Linked DNA regions of Homo sapiens: region 1 is linked to region 2. The links are contacts of gene promoters, found by promoter capture Hi-C in human tissues and cell types (Jung and others, 2019). All regions are on one chromosome and are shown on one strand. The core of a region is centred on a gene start or on the middle of the fragment in contact, and the rest is flanking DNA. Distances in the headings are between cores, read along the strand shown. Region 1 overlaps AADACL2-AS1 (AADACL2 antisense RNA 1). Region 2 holds the start of AADAC (arylacetamide deacetylase).

Region 1 (4,624 bases), core at 944-3,443, 54 kb after region 2:
CAATATGTGTTTTTTTTAATTGATTATTGAAAAGAAGGTAGGATGTGAGACAGATAATGAAATATTAATGTCTGAGTTAAAACTATGGAAGAGAAATTAGAAGAGAAATATCAGATATTGCTTTCTGAAGGGCTTTTTTAAAATTATACTTTAAGTTCTGGGGTACATGTGCAGAACATGCAGGTTTGTTACATAGGTATACATGTTCCATGGCGGTCTGCTGCACACATCAACCTGTCATCTACATTAGGTATTAACCTAATGCTATCCCTCCCCTTGCCCCCCACCCCACAACAGGCCCCAGTGTGTGATGTTCCCCTCCCTGTGTCCATGTGTTCTCATTGTTCAACTCCCACTTATGAGAACATGTGGTGTTTGGTTTTCTGTTCCTGTGTTAGTTTGCTGAGAATGATGGTTTCCAGCTTCATCCATGTCCCTGCAAAGGACATGAACTCATCCTTTTTTATGGCTGTGTAGTATTCCATGGTATATATGTGCCACATTTTCTTTATTCAGTCTAAAATTGATGCACATTTGGGCTGGTTCCAAGTCTTTGCTATTTTGAGTAGTGCCATAATAAACATACGTGTGCATGTGTCTTTATAGCAGCATGATTTATATTCCTTTGGGTATATACCCAATAATGGCATTGCTGGATCAAATGGTATTTCTGGTTCTAGATCCTTAAGGAATCACCACACTGTCTCCCACAATGGTTGAACTAATTTACACTCCCACCAACAGTGTAAAAGCGTTCCTATTTCTCCACATCCTCTCCAGCATCTGTTGTTTTCTGACTTTTAATGATTGCCATTCTAACTGGCATGAGATGGTATCTCATTGTGGTTTTGATTTGCATTTCTCTAATGATCAGTGACGATGAGATTTTTTTTCATATTTGTTGGCTGCATAAATGTCTTCTTTTGAGAAGTCCCTGTTCATATCCTTCACCCACTTTTTGAGGGGTTGTTTATTTCTTGTAAATTTGTTTAAGTTCCTTGTAGATTCTGGATATTAGTCTGTGAAGTGCTTTTCTAATCACTGCTTCTCTTCCTCCTCTCATAATGCTTGGTATTTTACATTCCAGAATCTAGTGCTATTGGAAACAGTTTTGTTTTATTTTCCCTGTATTCTAATCTCTGCTATAAATTAGTATTTCACCAGTTCCTGATAGATAAACGTACACGTCTTCAAAAAATGTTGAGTGAAAAGGGGGGAAATAGTAGAATAAAGGGAAGGGCCATTTTCACTCAAAAAGTATGCTTCAAGTTTGAGGATGACAGGCTTTTTCAGTGGCAAAACAAATTGATGCAGCTGTTGCATTTTACTGCCGTCACAGTGAACAAACACAGACTTTTGTTTAAAGTAAATGGTCTTTGGGTAGAAGTTTCTGTGTTTGGAGGTCCTTTGGCAGGGACAAGGCTTGTTATATCCCTTTCCCCAAGAAGGGTGCATGGTGGAAGGTCAAACTGCTGTATTCTCTCTCTCAAGCTTGCTATTGTTTTTCTTTCCTTCTTTTTTTTTTTTTTTTTTTCATGTTTTTTAGAATAGACATTGTTAGGTCCTAGCCTGGGGATGGGTAAGAGTGATTTTCTCCTTTAACATCAGGAAACAGTGTATACACACAGCTGTCAGGGAGGGTTCTCTGCCACTCTCTCTTCCCCTAGGGTGAGTCCTCCCATTTCCATTGTGCACAAGATATTCTTCATTTTTCCCAGAGTCAGCCTTCCCAGCCGTATCCCCTCTAACCACTCTGAGGCTGATGTCCTTGTTGTGATGATGAGGGATCTAGAGTGAATGACTTAGAAGCATTTTTCTAGATCTGACAGTCCACACATGGCATTTTGACTGGCAATAATTCTTTCAAGTAGTACAAATTATGTTAGGATTTAAAGTTAGATGAAAGTGAAAAAATACAACATATGGACACATAAATAATAAATATAGGATGGGGAGATATTTTTTAAAGCAGAGAATGAGGTATTTCCTTAACGCTTTACATTGCTTATAATTGTCAGACTGCTACATTCTGAAAATTCTTTATTTGCTTTATTACAATACTGACCTAATGGTAAAGCCAAATTTTATCAGCTTTACAGTTAACAAATCAGCATAAAATATAAGTTTAAATGTAGTCAGTACATTAATGATTATATTATAGCGATAAAGATACTAATACAAAGGAATCATGCCACTGAGTGTGTTATTAACAGGGGCAGGTAATTTTCTTTAATTCATAACACAGTCACAAACCACTTAGCTCACTTAATGAACACATACTCTTGTACTCCAGGGAATTTTGAAAACCTCTCAATTCAATTACTAGGATGCTCAATGAGATTCAATCAGACTGACTTCTTGTTCTTATTTCAAGGGCAAATAATATATTCAAGCAAGTAAAATGAAGAGTGGTTAATTAGTAGCCAATTGAAAAAGTACATCAAGACAATAAACTAGCTGCTTTTTTGTTTCTATAAATAATGTAAAATATTCCAGGAATCAAGCAAATTTGTACAAAATACAGTAAATGTGACTGGAAGAGACTGAGTAGTCAAGTAATCAATTAGCAAATTAATAAATTACTTTAATATTTTAGGCAAACTCTTTTCTTTAAATAAAAAAGATGCCTTGATCAGCAACAGTTAAGAATGAAATCTGGCCTGGTGTGATGCCTCATACCTGGATAGCAAAGTGCTATCCAGTACTTTGGGAGGCTGAGGTGGAAGGATTGCCTGAGCTCAGGAGTTCGAGATGAGCCTCGCTAACCTTTTCTCTACAAAAAACCTAAAAAAATAAATTAACCAGGCGTGGTGGTGTGCACATGTAGTGCCAGTTACTCAGGAGGCTGAGGGCAGGAGGATCGCTTGAGCCCAGGAGATCAGGGCTGCAGTGAGTTATGGTCATGCTACTGCACTCCAGCCTGGGTGACAGAACAAGACCCTGTCTCAAAAATAAATAAATAAGTAAATAAAAATAAAAAGATAAAGAGAGAGAAAGAGGAAATGAAATCTGTCTCTAATTGTACACAAATGCCTGAATTTCATATACCGCTATTTCTATTCAAGGAAACAAAACAACATTATTTGTATAGAGAAACACCTGTGATTAAGGTTCAGCACATATTATCAAAAATGAATTAGCTGTGGAATTTGCATATAAACTGAAAGATAAAAGGTGAATTTGCTGTGTTTCTAGGTTAATTGTTAGTACTTCAAGGAACTTAGAATATTTTAGCTGTAGTCAGATGCTTTTAACAAATAATGTGTTTTAATTTAGCAGAACAATTCCTTTGAGTTATGCCCAGTACCAATAGATATGACACATATTTTTCTTAACTGTATAATCAGAAAAAAGTCAGTAATGCAAAAATTTCCATTAATAATGTAGCTCTTAAATGACAAGGATTTTCATAGGAAAAGGAAGTAGATTGCTTGAGTGCCTATTTTGAATAGACCATTTTCCGTGGTAAAGTAAATTTGGTTAATATAATTTATTGATTTCTAGAAGCCGGAAGAATTTTGAGACATGCACAAATACCTTCTGCTGTGTTTTTCCTTTTGCTGTTTGTCCTTTATTATTTTGCTACATGAAACCATTCATTGAAAAAGGAAGTAACCATGTAATCTTGCTTATATCTATCCAGAAACACCAAAATATCCTCCCCAATAATCTTGATTTGTTTCAACTTCTGGGGGTTGTTATTATTATTATTGTTTCTCCTTACGGGTTTAGAAGAAAGTCCTCGAATTAGATTAATTGCCCTCTTCTTTCTCTGCTTGTGACCCTTGAAGATTAGCATGACCCTTAAACCAGTTTTGTTTTCCACACAGACTTTTTGGGCTGTTAAATGTGGCTTGTAAACATTCCCAGAGACGTTGCTAGGAGAATCTTTCTATAAATACTTTAACTATTTATTTTTAACATGTTTGATTTTTATCTAAAATGTTCTATTCTTTTTGGAAGTTGGAAGATTTAAATTATTAAATTTGATAATCAATAAGTTTTATAACTAATAATTAAATTTAGTGTTAGTTTTAAATTTATTTTACTAAACTATATAAAATTGCCATATATAAGGTAAAAATGTTCCAATATCAATAATTTTATGTTTCAATCTAATATTTTCATCTTTACCATGAGTGACTCAGGAGAATAATGGAGAAGAGTTTGGATTCAGGAGTCAAACAGATAAGGCTTCAAATTATACAGCCAAATCATGTATTAGCTGTGTATTTGTGGATCATTTATTTAATCTTTATTAGGCCTTGATTTCTTCAACTGAAAATGAGTGATATTAATAATATCCACTGCATTAAATTATTGTGAATATTAAAAGAATCACTGCATACACTGTGTTATTATAGAGTGAATGCTGAAAAAATGTTAGTAGAAGTTATTATTAATTTTTTTTAGACAGGATCCCACTCTGCCACCCAGGCTGGAGTAAAGTGATGCCATCATAATTCATTACAGTCTTGACATCCTGGGCTCAAGTGATCCTCCCACCTCAGCCACCTGAGTAGCTGGGACTACAGGTGTGTTCCACCACTCCCAGCCAATTTTTTCGATTTTTAGTAGAGGAGGTCTTGCTATGTTGCCCAGGTTGGTTTTGAATTCCTGAGCT
Region 2 (4,288 bases), core at 554-3,053:
AGAATATGTCTTCCTAAAAATCAACAAGTCTCATGCCAAAGTGCGAAATCCCTTTCCAAGTCCTTCTCGCTACCTCCACTGCAGCCAAACTTTGAGAACACAAGTCTTGGTACCATCTTTCCAGGTTAAAAAGAGCACCTGCAGCTGACCCATCACCAACTAACCAACCAGCTGTTCCCTGCAAATACTCCAGCACTCTTCTCAGACCAATTCGACTCCGCCTAACGCCCATGCCTGAAGACCCCACTCTTCCCTCATGAACCATAGCAGATAAGTTATCACCCCTTACCATTAAGTATCCAAACCCTTATTAATGGAAATCATCCATTACGCTGCCCTTGCAGGAATCACCCTACTTACTCTACTCTTTGCCATAGGAATATATACTGTCTTGCCTCCTGGGTGGAATTTCAGACAAAAAAAACTCAATATTCGTAACCTCTTGCCTCATAATCCTCCTCATAGCAGGTATAATAGCCACCACCAACAGATAGTGGCCCCTCCTAAATGTCCTGTCTTTGCCCATCCTGGCATTTCACACTCTTCCTTCACTGCATCACAGAAAACCTTTCATGGTCCTACCCAGAACATCCCACCCTCACAGCATTCCTTGATTGGATCACCAATCTTATATTTCAAGGGGATTTACAGGAATTCACTCCAGATGAAGCCGAATTCTTTACCTTTACACTTGCTCTCTGTCTATTTACTCCTTCTTCCCTCCTCCTTCTCGCTACCGCTCCACCTACAGCGCACCATTCCACAGGCACATATGATACTCAGTCAAACTAACCCCTCCCTGGCCAAGGCCTGCTGGTACACCCCTCAGAAACCGTATCAAAAGATGTCTTCCCAGCTCCCCTCAAAGACTGGGTTCTCAGCAATATGACCCTCCACCCCCGCTACCAAAGTTTTGGAGAAGTAAATGCACTCAAAAGTTACAAACTCAATCTTACCACACATACTGCAGAACACAAGGTTATCTTAGGAACACTTACCCCAGACTCAGAACTCAGTCAACCAGCATCCCTATGCATAAAGCGTGAACTTTCCAAAGGAGTGCCCCTAGGCACCCTCTCCTCTAGCTTATGCAACTGTACCCTAACACTCACTCCCCCGACAGGCATCCAAACAATAACAGAAAAAAACCCCACACAAACTCTCAAAATCTCCAACCCCCGTCAGACCCAAGTCACGGGAGAAACATCAGGATTCTGCAATAACTGACACAGGCCCTGCATAGAAATCGCAGGGTGGAACACTTGCCTAAACCCCGTCCCCACTTCCCAATGCATGGAAATCCCACTGCCTAACACACCCTCAAACAAACTACTTATTGACACAAAACGCTTCTTATGGACTCAGCCTGGGTGACAGAGGAAGATTCTGTATCAAAAAATATATATATATACACACACACATATATATGTATATATATGTGTGTGTGTATATATATAATTTGTTTTTTCCATGATAAGCTATTTTAAAACAAAGATTCTGAATTCTGTATGTTTTCTATGGATAATTTTGTTAGAGTTAAAGAATTTGTTCCCGAGTTATTACTCAATACATGCTGTTTATTGGAATACAGATAACAGCATGATCATTGACAAACTTTGCCCTAGTTTCCTATTACTCATTAAACCTTGAAGTTGCACTTAACATGACTGTATCTGGATAACAGATAAAATTTTGGCCTTATTATGCCAACCCTTAAACTAAGTGAGCAACTCTGTTTTCAAAGCTTTTGGGTGGAGCTGAAGCACACTGCTTATTAAAGTACACTATTCAGGCATATCATGTAGGTTTACTTTCTGTGTTTCTAGAGACCAAGAAGCGGGACGTTCACCATGGGAAGAAAATCGCTGTACCTTCTGATTGTGGGGATCCTCATAGCATATTATATTTATACGCCTCTCCCAGATAACGTTGAGGAGCCATGGAGAATGATGTGGATAAACGCACATCTGAAAACTATACAAAATTTGGTAAGTTTGGAATTTTATGAATTCAGATGTGCATACACCACCATTTGACCCAGAGAATTAAGTTTTTCAAGATTCTATTCTTTTGATTTATTGACTTATTCATCTTTTAAAATAACTGCTGTGGCCTTTGACAATGTGTTACTTAGAAATGTTGTTTGTTTTCTGTCTTATGTATTGGAATCATGTTAAAAAAATATCAAGAACAGCAAGCAAGGAGTCATTTGAATAGGTTTTGCTAAAAAGTACTTTGTTTAGGTAGCTTTAATATCACGATAGTGGCTCTCCTTTGAAATTCTTATCTTAGGTATGGTTTGTTCCTTAAATTTTATACTCAAATTAGAGATCATCTGATTATGCAGCACTGTGTTAGTTACAGATTTTTATGCACTTATCTTTGGGATTCAGAATATAGACTAAGGACACGTAAATAAGTTCTCAAGAAAAGATTCAATGGGCAGGCTGGTTGGCACATGCCTAGGGTTAACCACGAGACGGCACAATATGCACAAATGAGAGGGGGAGGGAGACCTGGGTGTCCTGGCAACTGGGCAGCTTGGATGCTGGCAAATTAAAAAGGTGTAGCTCTCTCTGGATCCTTGATGATATTTTACTATTACTTCTTTGGTTATTTTATTATCTTCATTAAAACAAATCTCTTTTCAGAACTTAAACCAGATAAATGTTGTAACTCCTGGATTAATCTTTTATTTTGCATTTATTCAACAATTCAACTGTCTCAAATCCTATTAGGCAAACAAGTAGTCTATCCCCACACAGTTGACATTCTAGTGGTGGAGAAAAAAATAAATTAGAATTAAATGAATAAATGATTTTAGTTCATGAGAAGTACCTTTAAGGAGGTAAGATGGAAGAAAAGAGAGTAATTTGGGCAGAAGGCAAGAGTGGGCTACTGTATGCATGGTGAGAAAAAGCCATTCTGAAGAGGAAACAGCTACTTAGGGACCAGAAGAATGAAAAGAAACCAACCATTCTAAGTGCTAAGAAAAATGTTTTCCAGCAGAGACACCAACAAGTAAAAACACCCCAGCTACAGAATATTGACAAGTCCAAGAAATCATATGAAACATTTGGGTTTAATGGGGAAATTGTTGCAATTAGTTTGGAGAGGTTAGAAGCCATATCATACAGTGCTTTGTGGGCACTGGTAGTAAGTTTTGATTTAATTCTGTATGTGATGCAGAGCTATTAAAGAGCTTTAAGAAAGGGACACATTTTTTTCCCTCATATTTGCTGTCTGTGCTACAATATGTGAGAGGTCTTTGATTTTTTTCTTGGAGTCTTTATATTAATTTTTATTTATTTAAGCAATTATATATATATTCTTCTCTGGTAGCCTTTTAATTAATTAATTCATTCATTTACTTACATTCTGTCCACAATTTATGAAAGTAATGTATTTTCAGAGCTCTCAGTCGATATACCTTTTAAAAGTTGTTTTAATGCCCTTTCTTATTCCTGAATTATCTGCTTGTTTGTTTGCTTGCTTTTTTGTGATCGTTTATGCTCCTGGTTTGTCCCTTTTTTCCTGATTAGTTTTGCTGGCTTCTCTGAAATGTCTGGCAATCTTTGAGTGTTCATACCCTTTATTAAAGGATTATGTTATGAACATTACATCAAGAATCAAACTACTGGATTGAGAATCCTGGTAAATATCATTTACTAGTTGTGTAGGCATGGACGACATATTTAACCTTCCTGGGCTCACTTTCCTCATATCTGACATGGATAAGAAAATGTTATCTTCCTCCCATATAAGCAAGTTGTTAATATTACTGAGATGACTACAATAGAGTGCTCAGAACACTGACTCATTCTACAGTGAAAGGATGGGCTGCAGGCAGGCAAGCTGCCCTCCCTTTTTCTCCCACTCATTCCTTCCCTCCCAACCCTGACTCCCAGCTCCCATGTGCAACCAGCTCCATAGCCACACCTCACTGCACCTCCCTATTTCTAAACTAAACCAGTTCCTCGACCTGCCAGGGTTTTTCCTTTTCTTATTTGGTTAGCAAAAGACTTAGGAAAAGGTATTTATTTCAAGCCTCAGACAAAATTGCTTTTCCAGTTTCTACTCCCAAGTAGCTTTTTGTAATCACCTGCTGTTCGCTCCCAAAGTACTTTGTACAGAGCTCTGTAATAGTATTTACATTGTTTTGTAACCATTTATTTGTCTTTCACACTTAACTCTGAGATTCTTGAGAAGAGCATTTGTCTGGTTCATCTCTGAAACCGTAAAGCTTGGTAGAGAGCCTGACACATTTTAGTGACATAGGAACTAAATT

Evidence for each region. Contacts are between HindIII fragments. The study calls those that stand out against the background at their distance.
Region 1: a fragment that was not itself captured here is called in contact with the fragment with the promoter of AADAC in region 2 in 1 of the 25 tissues and cell types used here (heart right ventricle).

Annotation. Positions count from the first base shown.
Region 1 is chr3:151,865,563-151,870,186 of GRCh38, forward strand. The region is part of intron 1 of AADACL2-AS1 (AADACL2 antisense RNA 1); the gene reads right to left. Among named protein-coding and RNA genes, the nearest start is that of SUCNR1, 5.8 kb to the right of the region's middle. The HindIII fragment of the contact is 7,136 bases long and covers 1-4,624 here.
Region 2 is chr3:151,812,313-151,816,600 of GRCh38, forward strand. It overlaps AADAC (arylacetamide deacetylase), which reads left to right and starts at 1,804. Exons shown (of 5, transcript NM_001086.3): 1 at 1,804-1,988. The coding sequence starts at 1,851. The region is part of intron 1 of AADACL2-AS1 (AADACL2 antisense RNA 1); the gene reads right to left. The HindIII fragment of the contact is 13,838 bases long and covers 1-2,993 here.